2 separate regions of the Homo sapiens genome follow, and region 1 is linked to region 2. The links are contacts of gene promoters, found by promoter capture Hi-C in blood cells and fetal thymus (Javierre and others, 2016). All regions are on one chromosome and are shown on one strand. Each heading gives the region's core, a stretch centred on a gene start or on the middle of the fragment in contact. The rest is flanking DNA. Distances are from core to core; before and after follow the strand shown.

Region 1 (4,759 bases), core at 280-2,779, 590 kb before region 2:
GGACAGAAAATCTGTCGCCTACCTGCTATGTCTAGAGTGAGAATCATAAGAACAATGAACATTCTCTCCAAAACATAGGTTTTTAGATCAGAGAATTTGAGGGTTGGATTCACATTTGGTTATACCTGAAGCTATTTATAAGAATTGACTTTTCAAGCTATTTTTTTTTTTTTTTTTTGAGACAGTCTCACTCTGTCGCCTAGGCTGGAGTGCAGTGGCACGATCTCAGCTCACTGCAACCTCTGCCTCCCCGACTCAAGTGATTCTCCTACCTCAGCCTCCCGAGTGACTGGGACTACAGGCATCCGCCACCATACCCGGCTAATTTTTGTATTTTTAGTAGAGATGGGGTTTCACCATGTTGGCCAAGATGGTCTCAAACTCCTGACCTCAAGTGATCCGCCTGCCTCGGCCTTCCAAAGTGCTGGGATTACAGGCGTGAGCCGCTGCACCCAGCCATTTCAAGCTATTTTCAAATGATTCTTTTTAGGAAGTCAGTTAAAACATGTGGAGAAACTGCCAGGGCGCTGTCAGTGGCCAGCTGTGAATACATACTGCAGCCACTCACAGGCTGTTGTGTAGCTGTCTGCTGGTCTCTATTCTGGACTCTGATGTTGAAAATCAGCAGAGGGATGAACAGCTATGAGGTATATACTTCTAAAGCACCAAGTGAGTGTAAGCTTTAAGGAGGAGGTTATTACTTAGCATTTCTTTCTTTCTTTTTTTTTTTAATCCAAATGCCTCTCAAGTATTTCTTATTAGCTTAAAATGTCACTCTGTGTTGAACAAATGCACAAAAACCATAAAAATTTCAGAGGCCTCATTTTGGGTTAAAATTCAGTAGAAGGCAAGACGTGGTGGCTCATGCCTGTAATCCTAGCACTTTGGGAGCCTGAAGTGGGTGATCGCTTGAGCCCAGGAGTTCGAGACCAGCCTGGGCAACATGGTGAAACCCCATCTCTACAAAAAATACAAAAATTAGCTGGGTCTCTACAAAAAATACAAAAATTAGTGTGGTGGCACGCACCTCTGGTTTCAGCTACTCGGGAGGCTGAGATGGGAGGATCACCTGCGCCCAGGGAGATTGAGGCTGCAGTGAGCCATGATTGACCACTACAGTCCAGCCTAGGTGACAGAGTGAGACTCTCTAAGAAAAAAAAAAAAAATTCAGTAGAGACCCCCAAGATAGCAGGTATAAGTTTGGATCTGGTTCTATTTTATAGCCTTACTTGAAATATAGAATATGTACATGACACAGAGAGAAGAATAAAACTGTCTGTGATACAGGTTAGGAGAACACAGATAGTAAGTTGCATCAAGATTTCAGGCCAGACATTGTGGCTCACACCTGGAATCCCAGCGCTTCGGGAGGCCGAGGTGGGCAGATTGTTTGAGCCCAGGAGTTCAAGACTAGCCTGGGCAACATGGCGAAACCCTGTCTCTACAAAAAATACAAAAATTAGCCAGGTGTGGTGGTGCACACCTGTGGTCCCACCTACTCAGGAGGCTAAGGTGGGAGGATTGCTTGAGCCTGGGAGGTCAAGGCTGCAGTGAGCTGTGATCATGCCATTGCACTTCAGCCTGGGAAACAGAATGAGACCCTGTCTCAAAAAAAAAAAAAAAAAGATTTCAGTGAAGAGGAAAGTGCATTAGGTAGAGTCATTGTCGGGAGGGTATTGAGAGGATTGGGATTTTAATTGTCCTTGGAGATAGGTATACTGTGGCCAGATAGAAAGGGGTGGTGACTACACTCCGTGGGTATAAAGATACTGAGGAAAGCATGAATTCTGTGTTAGGTAATCAGGCCACAGCAGAAGTACATTTTGGAAATCTCCATGCTAAAAAGCCTTGTTCTCCTGAAGTGTGAAGTCACTGAGGTGTGAAGTGTTAGCCTAAATTTTCTCTCTTTGTAGAAGAAGGAAGCAGAGGAATTGGCCCGGAACATGGCCATCCAGCAAGAGCTGGAAAAGGAAAAACAGAGGGTAGCACAACAGAAGCAGCAGCAATTGGAACAGGAACAGTTCCATGCCTTCGAGGAGATGATCCGGAACCAGGAGCTAGAAAAAGAGCGACTGAAAATTGTACAGGAGTTTGGGAAGGTAGACCCTGGCCTAGGTGGCCCGCTAGTGCCTGACTTGGAGAAGCCCTCCTTAGATGTGTTCCCCACCTTAACAGTCTCATCCATACAGCCTTCAGACTGTCACACAACTGTAAGGCCAGCTAAGCCACCTGTGGTGGACAGGTCCTTGAAACCTGGAGCACTGAGCAACTCAGAAAGTAGTAAGTGCATTTGCTGATGTCCTCTTCCTTCTCAGTTGCAGCCAAACAGTATCATTCTGACGGGGTCAACCTAAGATTACCTCCCTGATCCCACTCATTAAGCTTTGGTCACAGAAACCCATCTGATAAGTATTGCTGTACTGTGTCCTAATACACTGGCTATGTTATAAAAGTGGCCTTTGCTGAAACCTAGTCTGGTCGATTTTCTGAAGAGCTAATATTATTCTTGAAAGTCAGACTGTCAACTTTTTAGTGAAAGGAAAAGAATGTGCCAAACCGAATTCATAATCCTCAGATAACATCATCAGACTGCTGTGTGACTCTGTGTCCCCTGCTCTGACTTTGTTACCTCTCTAGCAATTCAGATCTTGCTGTTGAATACGCAAAAGCAGAACATCTTTCCCCTCCCACTTTTTTTTTTTAAATATGAAAATATAGCTGTGAGAGACACTTCCTAACTTTAGCTTGCTGGCTGTCTCACAGAGTTTCTCCATGGTGTTCAGAAACTGGGTCCATTCTTGGCATTTTTTATGAGCTGCTTTGTTCATGCCTTTTTTGGGGGACTACACTGTATTTTTTATTTTGTTGTGGTTTGGCATTTAACTTCTTCCAGAAGAGTAAGTTCAGAAGTAAATAACTGCCCAGATTGTTTTCCATTCTCAAGAATATACACCAGTGTATTTCTTTTAAAGTCATACTCTGATATTCTTATCTGAGATAAAAGAGATTTAAAATTAAAAGTTCAGATGAATGGGCAGTGTCTTAGTCCATTTTGTGCTGCTATAACAGAATACCTGAGGCTGGATAATTTATAATGAACATAAATTTATTTGGTTCATAGTTCTGGAGAGTGGAAAGTCCAAGACCCAGGGGCCTGGCAAAGGCCTTCTTGCTGCGTCATCCCACGACAGAAGGGTGGAAGGGCAAACAAAGATCCCTCATAGCCTCATCACCTCTTAAAGATCCTACCTCTCAATAATTTTGCATTAGGAATTAAGTTTCCAAAACATGAACTTTGGGAGACACAGTCAAACCACAGCAGGGAGGTTATTTTTTTAATTCTTTGTATTAGATTCTGACAGAAAATTCCCAAATGTTTCAAGAACTTGTGTCTTTTTCCCCCCTAAATTTTATTTTTTACTTTTATTTTTTAAGTTTTTGTGGGTACATAGTAGGTGTATGTATTTATGGGGTACATGAGATGTTTTGATACAGGCATGCAATATGAAATAAGCACATCATGGAGAATAGGGTATCCATCCCCTCAAGTATTTATCCTTTGAGTTACAAACAATCCAATTACATTCTTAAGGTTATTTTTAAGAAAACTTTTCTTAAGGTAGTAGTTTGCCCTTTTCTTAACTTGAATAATTAAAGCCTACTATTTTCTCTTCTTGAAGTAATGTGCTCCTTACAGCTGTGGCCCAAGATTGGAGAAGACACTTTACAGCCCTTTTTTTGGTGCCATTAGAATGAGATCCCTACTCACTGCCTGAAGTTGGGGGAATCCCAGTGGCTTAATGTTGCTCCTCCAGGGCTGCTGGCTGTGAGGTCTGCTTGAGGAGGCAGGGCTCAGTGGTCGCAGACTATTCTCCTTTCTCCTTTACAGTTCCCACAATCGATGGATTGCGCCATGTGGTGGTGCCTGGGCGGCTGTGCCCACAGTTTCTCCAGTTAGCCAGTGCCAACACTGCCCGGGGAGTGGAGACATGTGGAATTCTCTGTGGAAAACTGGTAAAAAGAAAAAAAAAACCAAACTCTTCTCTGAACCGAAACTGTTTCTTCCCCTCTTGGCATCCTGTGACTCTCAGAGAAAATATCCAGGGTCAGTTACTCTTTGTACCAAGGAACCGTGGACTGCATAATTTCATGTCACTTTGAATTTGGTGACCCTGTATTGATTGATTGAATTGAAGTGGTTATTTTAATGCTAGTAGTAAGAAATACCTAATTTTAAACTTGGTAGGAAGATCCAGTCATTATCTACATATCAATTTTTTTGGTACCTACTTTATGGTAGGACCTGGGAATATAAAATATGTAAAGCACATAGTATGTGTCCACGAAAAGTGCCCAGTCACTTTGGAGAGAAGGCAGACATGCACTAAAGTCTAACCAGCATGCTGAAAAATATGTACAGTATAAGTATTGGGAATTTTGAGGAAGGAAAGGTCACTGAATGGAGGCACTTAAAGAACCCATTACTGCTGAATGAATAAATAAATGAAGTAGAGTAAATGTAAGCCGAGGCTTACAGGATGAGAAGGGCTTAAGGAAACAGTGACAGGACAACAACTTTAGACCTGAGCAAGGGAAGAGAAATGGTACTCTACCCAGAGCTTCTCAGCAGAGCAGTTTGGCACAGCAGGAAATTCCCTCAGGGCTGTGGTGTTTGCCCAGGCTGCAGAGTTCTGGGGTTGGTCTCTGCATCTGTCGCTGTACAGAGTACCCCAGGCAATGTGCATCAGCAGCCAAGGTT
Region 2 (7,730 bases), core at 1,687-4,186:
GCGCAAGGTGCAGTGGCTCACGCCTGTAATCTCGGCATTTTGGGAGGTCGAGGTAGGGAGATCACTTGAGCCAGGACCAGCCTGGGCAATATAGTGAGACCTCGTCTCTGTAAAGAATTGAAAAAAACAAATACACGAATAAACAGCACCTTGCTGTCTCAAGGGCCAGCAGAATCCTTACTCATAGCCCAGAGTCCTTCTCTTCTCTAGCAAGGCTACATCCTTTCTGTAAACCTCTCTCACATTGAACTCCTCTCTTCTTCCCATGCCTAAAAGGAACCCTTGTCCCCAGAACAGACATTTACACTCACCCACAGAGCTTCCTGAAATAGGTGTAAAGACCCTGCTGCAAACATAAGACTATGATGGGCAGAACTGAGCCTGGGTCCACACACTGCACCCAACACAAGGCATAGGGAACCACCTGTCCCTCTTCCCACTTTAAGCAGGCCTGGCTCTCCCCACCATGCTGTAGCAGGAATGGGCAGGGCAGAGATTGGGGCTGGGATGCAAGTGAAGGAGGTGTGTACTCCAAGGGTCGGGGGATTACCTCCAGGCTGAGTGCCATCTGCCGAATGTAGAGCATATTCAGGTCCTCCAGGATGTGCAATCTGTCCTGCATCTCTGTGCCCCCCGGTGCCCTTTCCCTTGTCAACCCCTCCAGAGGGGGGACAGATAGGTACCACACTGTCCCACAGTTCCTCCTCCCACTGTTCCCTCAGTCTTTAAAGAGGTGGCCAGCTCTTGGGCAGAGGGCAGAAGCTGCCCTTATCCCTCTGCACTCCTGTTAAACCCCTCTGGCTGCTGTGACAAATTTTCCTCGCCCACTGCTGCTCCGGGGCCCTGCCGGGAGCCAGGCAGGGAAGAAAAAGAAAGCGAAGTGAGGATAAGTGGGGTCCCAGGAGGAAAGGCCAGCTGCAGAGGGGGCTCTAGGCACAGAGTGTCCAGTCTCGCTTTGGTGGCAGCTGTTCTCCCAGCTGTGGAAGAAAAAGGCCCTTTCATTCCGACTCTGGCCGCTCCCCAGCCCCCGCCCACATCCCTGGCCTGGTGGACAGGGAATCTGTGTGCGGAGAGGGCAGTGAGGGGCAGGCACAACTGGAAGGGGGCAGGGAAACGACGCCTCATGCAGGTTCTAGAGTCATGGGGTTTGCAGGAGGTTGGAGCTTCCCGAGAGGGGTTCCAGCTTAGTTTGAGAAAGTTGGGAAAAAGAGCCACACAGGTGAGGACCTCAGGGGAGAGTGAGCCCAGGGAATGGGACAAAGGGGTGAGTTGGCAAAGCAGCCCAGCCCTAGGGCCACCCCTTCCAACTCAGGGCCCCCATCCAGCCCGCTCCACCCTGGGCTCACAATTACCTCGCTTTTCCAGAGAAGGGAGGAGAGGGAGAGAGGAAGGCAGGGGTGTGCCTGTCTGCTGCTGTCCCCGCTCCCTTCTGCAGGCCCCTTCCCTTCCAGACAGGAAACCAGCCCCGATTCCGAGCCAGCTGCAGCCTAGCGCCCCCGCCTCCACGCCAGGCCCACGGAGTCACACTTCACTCGGCGGCCGCCAGGCCCTGCGGCTCCGCCCCAGCTCCTCCGAGCTGTCCCCGAAGGCCGGGCTAATCCCAGGGGCGGCCCCAGCTCACAGGCCCCTCCCCCTGGTCCCGGGCCTCGCCCCTTACTCCCCCACGCTGGCCCCACGCGGGTTCCTCGGGCCCAGTCGCTTGGGGGCAAGGGGACGCGACAAAGGCCCCCTCTCCCCAGGTCCACTAGCTTCTGAGTCAGAGAAGGCCCGGGACGCCGGGACAAGGGTGTGAAAGAGCCTCTTTGTTCTGGGCAGGCTGGAGGGAAAGGGCAGAAGCCAGGCCTGGAATCCCAGCCGGGAGGTAGAGGGGGCGGAAGGAAGGCCCACCTCACTTAACCCTTTCCAGACCCGGAAGGGAAGGCTTGGAACTGGGCTCTCCTTGGGCGAGTGTGAGTCTGACCTTGGGGACAGAAGAGTCTTCGGGGTAGCTATTCGCCCTCTCAGTCCCCGCTCAACCACACACCTTCAGCCCCGCCCTAGCCCTTAGGGCGTTACAGGTGGGGATCCAACAGGTTAACGCGTGGACGGCGGACGGGGGAAACGCTCAGCCTAGGGGCTGGACTCCTCTTAGGCCCCAGAAAAGGAGGCGGAAATTTTGCGTGTGGGAAGTAACCCCAAGGAGTTAAAAGCCCTGCAGGGGCATAGAGGAGCCTTTGAATTGGGCTTCGGGGAAGCGAGCGGCCCCGGCCTAAAGTCGGGGTTGATGACAGAGGCTGGCCCAGATGGCTGCGACAGGTTGTGGGATGGGGCTGGCGACTGGGGAACAAGCGGGAGCCCAGGCCAAGAGTCCGAGCGCTTGGGGCCCGCCTAGCTGCCCACCGCCCTTGGCCCGGGGATGCCCAAGACATTTTGGGGTTCAGGCACATTTTAGGAGTCGAGCTGGGGCCCTACAAATTGAGACCAACCCGGGCTTTTTCCAGGCTCAGGCAGATAATCCTAACCAGGCCGCGGAATGGGCAGCATGGATCCGATGAAAATGCAGACCGTCCACACCTTACTTTTTAAGTCAACAACTCCGTCGGGTTTGTACCCAGACCGTGCGTCTCCGCCCCTCGGCGTGCACGCGGGCGAGGGAAGGAGGCCGAGGTGGCTGGGGCTGCCCCCGGGAGCCGCGGAAGGGGAAGGCAGGGACGCGAGTCTCTCACCTCGGGCAGGTCGCTGAAGAGGCTGAGTCGGAAGCGGCCGCGTTTGAACTCCATCTCCAGGGCGGAGCCCCTGGCCACGGTGACCCGGCTCCGGTGGTTTCGGGAGAACATGCTGGCGGCCCTGCGACTTTGCCTGCTCAGTGCGCTCCCCGCGCCGCCCGGCTTAGCCTCCTCTCCTCGGCTTCTGTCTCTCGACGCTCGTCCGCCAGTCCGGCCGGGAATCTCCCGCTGCGGGGCTCCAAACCCCGCCCCCGGAGACGACACCTGGGCCGGGCAGGGCGCGGCAACCTCCTCTTCCACCCCCGCCAAAGGCCCAGCCCGTCCGGCCAGTCCCTGGGCGCCAAGCCGACCTGGCCCGACGGCCCCGGAGCCCCCAGGGGCGCACTGCACCTCGCGAGCACTGTGGGAGCGCGTTCTCCCTGCCCGCGCGGGTCGCGAGCGCCTACCTGGACTTGGGACGGACCGAGAAGCCCTGCCCCGCCAGCCGCCCCAACCTGGCAAGCCTGGCTTCCCGGGCGCTGAAAACCCCGTGGCTCAGGGATCGCCGCGTAGCACGCTCTGGCTCTACTCGGGCCCTGGGACCTTGCCCAGTTTCAATCCCGGCAGCCTCCGAAGAGACCATTTCAACATCCCACAGTCCCAAATGTTCCTTCTTCGTCCCCCTCCCCACCTAGGCTCCTCTGCGAGGCTATCCGCCTAAGCCTAGTGGCCACAACTGATGGGGCGGTGCTTAAACACGTCGTGAAACCCCAGCTCTGTCACTAACTAACCGTGCAATCATTAACTTGGTCCAGTCACTGGCCTTTCTGAGCTTCAGTTTTCTCATTTGTTCAGTGGGAATACTGTAATTATCTCCACTCCTCAAGTTGCTATGAGGATTACCTATAAGAATGAGGGTAAAATGCCCAGCATAGTGCCTGGCACAAGGCAAGTGCCCCATATTTGCAGTCATAAAGAGCAGCTGCGCGCGGTGGCTCACGCCTGTAATCGCAGCACTTTGGGAGGCCTAGGAGGGTGGATCACCTGAGGTTGGGAGTTCGAGACCAGCCTGACCAACATGGAGAAACCCCATCTCTACTAAAAATACAAAATTTAGCCGGCCATGGTGGCACATGCCGGTAATCCCAACTACTTGAGAGGCTGAGGCAGGAGAATCGCTTAAACCCGGGAAGCAGAGGTTGTGGTGAGCTGAGACCCCACCATTGCACTCCACCCTTGGAAACAAGAGCGAAACTACGTCTAAAAAAAAGATGGCTGGGTGCAGTGGCTCAAGCCTGTAATCCTAGCACTTTGGGAGGCCAAGGGGGACTGATCGCTCTTGAGCTCAGGAGTTGGAGACCAGCCTGGGCAACATGAAACCCTGTCTCAACAAAACACACACACACACGCACACACACACACAAATTGGCCTGGCATGGTGGTGCACACCTGTAGTCCCAGCTACTCGGGAGGCTAAGGTGGGAGGATTGCTTGAGCCCGAAAGTTCAAGTCCAGCCTGGGCAACATAGTGGGACCCCATCTCTTAAAAAGCATTACAAATATGTATAATTTTTTATTTTTATTTATTTATTTATTTATTTATTTTAATTTTTTTTTTTTAAGACAGAGTCTCACTCTGTCACCCAGGCTGGAGTGCAATGGCATGATCTCGACTCACTGCAACCTCTGCCTCCTGGGTTCAATCGATTCTCCTGCCTCAGCCTCCGGAGTAGCTGGGATTACAGGCGTCTGCCACCATATCTGGCTAATTTTTGTATTTTTAGTAGAGATGGGGTTACACCATGTTGGTAAGGCTGGTCTCAAACTCTTGACCTCAGGCGATACACCCGCCTTGGTCTCCCAAAGTGCTGGGATTTCAGGCGTGGCCCACGCCTGGCCAATATTATCTATCTATAGATAGATATAGATATAGATAGATATAGATATAGATATAGATATAGATATAGATATAGATATAGATATAGATATAGATATAGATAGATATAGATATAATCAGCTGCTTTGCTGGATGGCTGGACTTGCCCGGCTGGACTTACCACTCCCTGCTTCCATAAAAACAGGGTTCCCGCTAGGCGCGGTGGCTCACGCCTGTAATCCCAGCACTTTGGGAGACCAAGGGGGGCAGATCACGAGGTCAGGAGATCGAAACCATCCTGGCTAACACGGTGAAAACCCGTCTCTACTAAATATACAAAAAAATTAGCCGGGCATGGTGGCGGGCGCCTGTAGTCCCAGCTACTCAGGAGGCTGAGGCAGGAGAATGCCCTGAACCTGGGAGGCGGAGCTTGCACTGAGCCGAGATCGTGCCACTGCACTCCAGCCTGGGCGACAGAGCGAGACTCTGTCTCAAACAAACAAACAAACAAACAAAAAACAGGGTTCCCTTCTTGCCCCCTCTGGGGAAAGCCCAGTGGAAGAGAAGGAAATGGCAAAGGATTAACTTGCTGATCACACATAAACAGATCTCCTGAAGGCTTCAGAACACAGAACTTGAGAAAGGGTGAGACTCCTACATGGCAGGCTGGCTGGACCCAGAGACATACCAGTCTTGAGCTCTTAGAGAGTCCAGATTAGAAATGTTTTGCTATGGCAAATCATTTCAACATTCTTTTGGAAAAGCTGACTGAAAAGTACTAAAGCAAAAGGGGAAATGCATCGGCTCCTGGAACTGAGCCAATACAAACAAATGAGCCAGGGGTCAAGCTTTAGATGTGGCTTAACCCACTCATTGAGTGTCAGGAATATCCAGTCTCTTCCCATCACTTGGCTCTACTTTCCTCCACGTTGGCTTCACTCTCCACAGTGTAACGAAATTGCTGCCCAAAATTCTGGGTCTATATCTTTTCAGGCTTAAATTCAGCTGAAAAGAGAGCATCTGTTTCCTGAGGCTCCTACACGTCTGGGATTCGCTGTGAGACATTTGTGATCATTCATCCATCCCAAACCAATCATTGGAGTCAGACGGTGGCCAGATCTGAACCAATTGCTGTGGCTAAGGAGGTTCTAGGTGCCAGCTGGCCAGGCTTGGGGTCACTTGCCCACTCCTGGAGACTAACCAGAACCCAGTGAACTGGGAGGGAGAAGGTGGGGGAGGGTTGTTCCCCAAAGAATGTTCCAACCACTACCACCAGAAGGTGAGAGAATGGAAAATGAACAGGAAAAACAACCAACATCCTCCACACACAAAATTTTATATGGAGAAGGGAGTTCTTCTGGTCAGTAGGAAAGGCAGATCAAAAGATTTATAAAGTCCATGGCATCTGAGATTAACCACAAAAGACGTGTGAGGGGAAAGAAAGGGAAAGATATTGTTCCTTAATTTATTCAAATATTCATCATCACTCCTCTGAACTGTAAGCCTTCTAGGGAGGGGCAGTCTGTCTTATCCCCAGTGCCTGGGACATAGCAAGTGATCAATAAACATCAGTTGAAGTAAATAAAAGAGAAGCAAACAGATTTGAGAGTCCTTGACTGAGATGTGCCATCCTGTTGGACTAAGATAGTTCATTTCAAATGTTTGTTTTTAAGCAACAGAACCTTTTTTTTTTAATGAAATCTTACCTGAAATGTGTGAAATCAAATCAGAGCTGCTATGATGGGAGCAGGTGCTAGAGCCTCATGCCTTGTCTACCCACAGGTGCTCAGCTGCTCCCTGCTCCCCCAGTGAACACAAGCTCTGTGGACGGGTTTGAAAACCCCTGGCCTGAGACCCAGGAAGGAGGCAGAGGAATGGAGGATCTTCAAAAAGGAGGTTGAGCTCAAATCCTGCCTGAGAGTTTGTACTCAATGTGGCTGAAGATTTTTGGGAAGGAGGGACATGATCAGGATTATATTATATTATATTATATATATATATTTATATAATATATATCACTCTGTTACCCAGCTAGAGCAAAGTGGTGCCATGATAATACACTGCAGCCTTGAACTCCTGGGCTCAAGCAATCCTCCTGTCTCAGCCTCCTGAGTAGCTAGGACTAAAGGCGTGCACCACCATGCGAGGCTAATTTTTAAATTTTTTTGTAGAGACAGCATCGTACAGGCTAGTCTTGAACTCCTGGCCTTAAGTGATCCTCCTGCCTCAGCCTCCCAAAGTTCTGGGATTACAGGCGTGACCACTGTTCCTCCTCCCAGAATTAACTTTAGAGATCGTAATTTGGCAGCCTTTTCCATTAGTCAGTTGGAGGAGTTGTGACTGGAGTCAGGGAAGCCAACTAACACTGCACTCAACTGAGGGAGGAGAGATAAGGGTCAAAATTTCTATGGATTTATGTATGTATGTATGCATGCATTTATTTTTATTTTTATTTTTATTTTTGAGATGGAGTCTAGCTCTATCACCCAGGCTGGAGTGCAGTGGCGCAATCTCGGCTCACTGCAACCTCTGCCTCCCAGGTTCATGCGATTCTCCTGCCTCCGCCTCCTGAGTAGCTGGGATTACAGGCGCCCACCACCACGCCTGGCTAATTTTTGTATTTTTAGTACAGATGGGGTTTCACCATGTTGTTCAATCTGGTCTCGAACTCCTGACCTCGTGATCTGCCCGCCTCAGCCTCCCAAAGTGCTAGGATTACAGGCATGAGCCACCGCGCCAGGCCAGACTTATTTTTTAAATTAAATTTCATTTGAAAAATATTTGAAAGTACGTGTACAGTTTTCTAAACACTATAAATGCCACTGTTTTTTAAATAATGTAAATAATGAAAAAAATGAATAAAAGTATGCCTTCCCCACCCTCAATTATTCCACTTCCAGAAGAAAACACTGAGACAGTTTGGTGCATTCAAGTGCTGAAGCTCACACCAGCGGTTCGTGTTGATGACTTTTCTGGAATTGGGCATGCCAGTTGCTAAACATTGCCTTAATTAAAAATTAAATTACGGGCTGGGCACAGCGGCTCACGCCTGCAATCCCAGCACTTTGGGAGGCCAAGGCGGGTGGATCACGAGGTCAGGAGTTTGACACCAGCCTGACCAACATAGTGAAACTCTGTCTCTACCAAAAATACAAAAATCAGCTGGGCGC

What was found. The method cuts DNA at HindIII sites, captures the fragments that hold promoters and counts their contacts. A CHiCAGO score of 5 or more calls a contact.
Region 1: a fragment that was not itself captured here is called in contact with the fragment with the promoter of RTKN in region 2 in 2 of 17 cell types (naive CD8 T cells and naive CD4 T cells); the score reaches 5.5 in naive CD8 T cells.

The regions. Positions count from the first base shown.
Region 1 is chr2:73,845,474-73,850,232 of GRCh38, forward strand. It overlaps STAMBP (STAM binding protein), which reads left to right. Exons shown (of 10, transcript NM_213622.4): 5 at 1,914-2,280; 6 at 3,890-4,014. All of the region lies in intron 1 of LOC112268419 (a long non-coding RNA gene), which reads right to left. Among named protein-coding and RNA genes, the nearest start is that of STAMBP, 19 kb to the left of the region's middle. The HindIII fragment of the contact is 1,702 bases long and covers 679-2,380 here.
Region 2 is chr2:74,439,001-74,446,730 of GRCh38, forward strand. It overlaps RTKN (rhotekin), which reads right to left and starts at 2,937. Exons shown (of 12, transcript NM_001015055.2): 1 at 2,706-2,937. The coding sequence starts at 2,816. RefSeq lists an enhancer at 388-1,125 and silencers at 1,553-1,862, 2,578-2,637, 2,948-3,027. The HindIII fragment of the contact is 8,784 bases long and covers 1-5,406 here.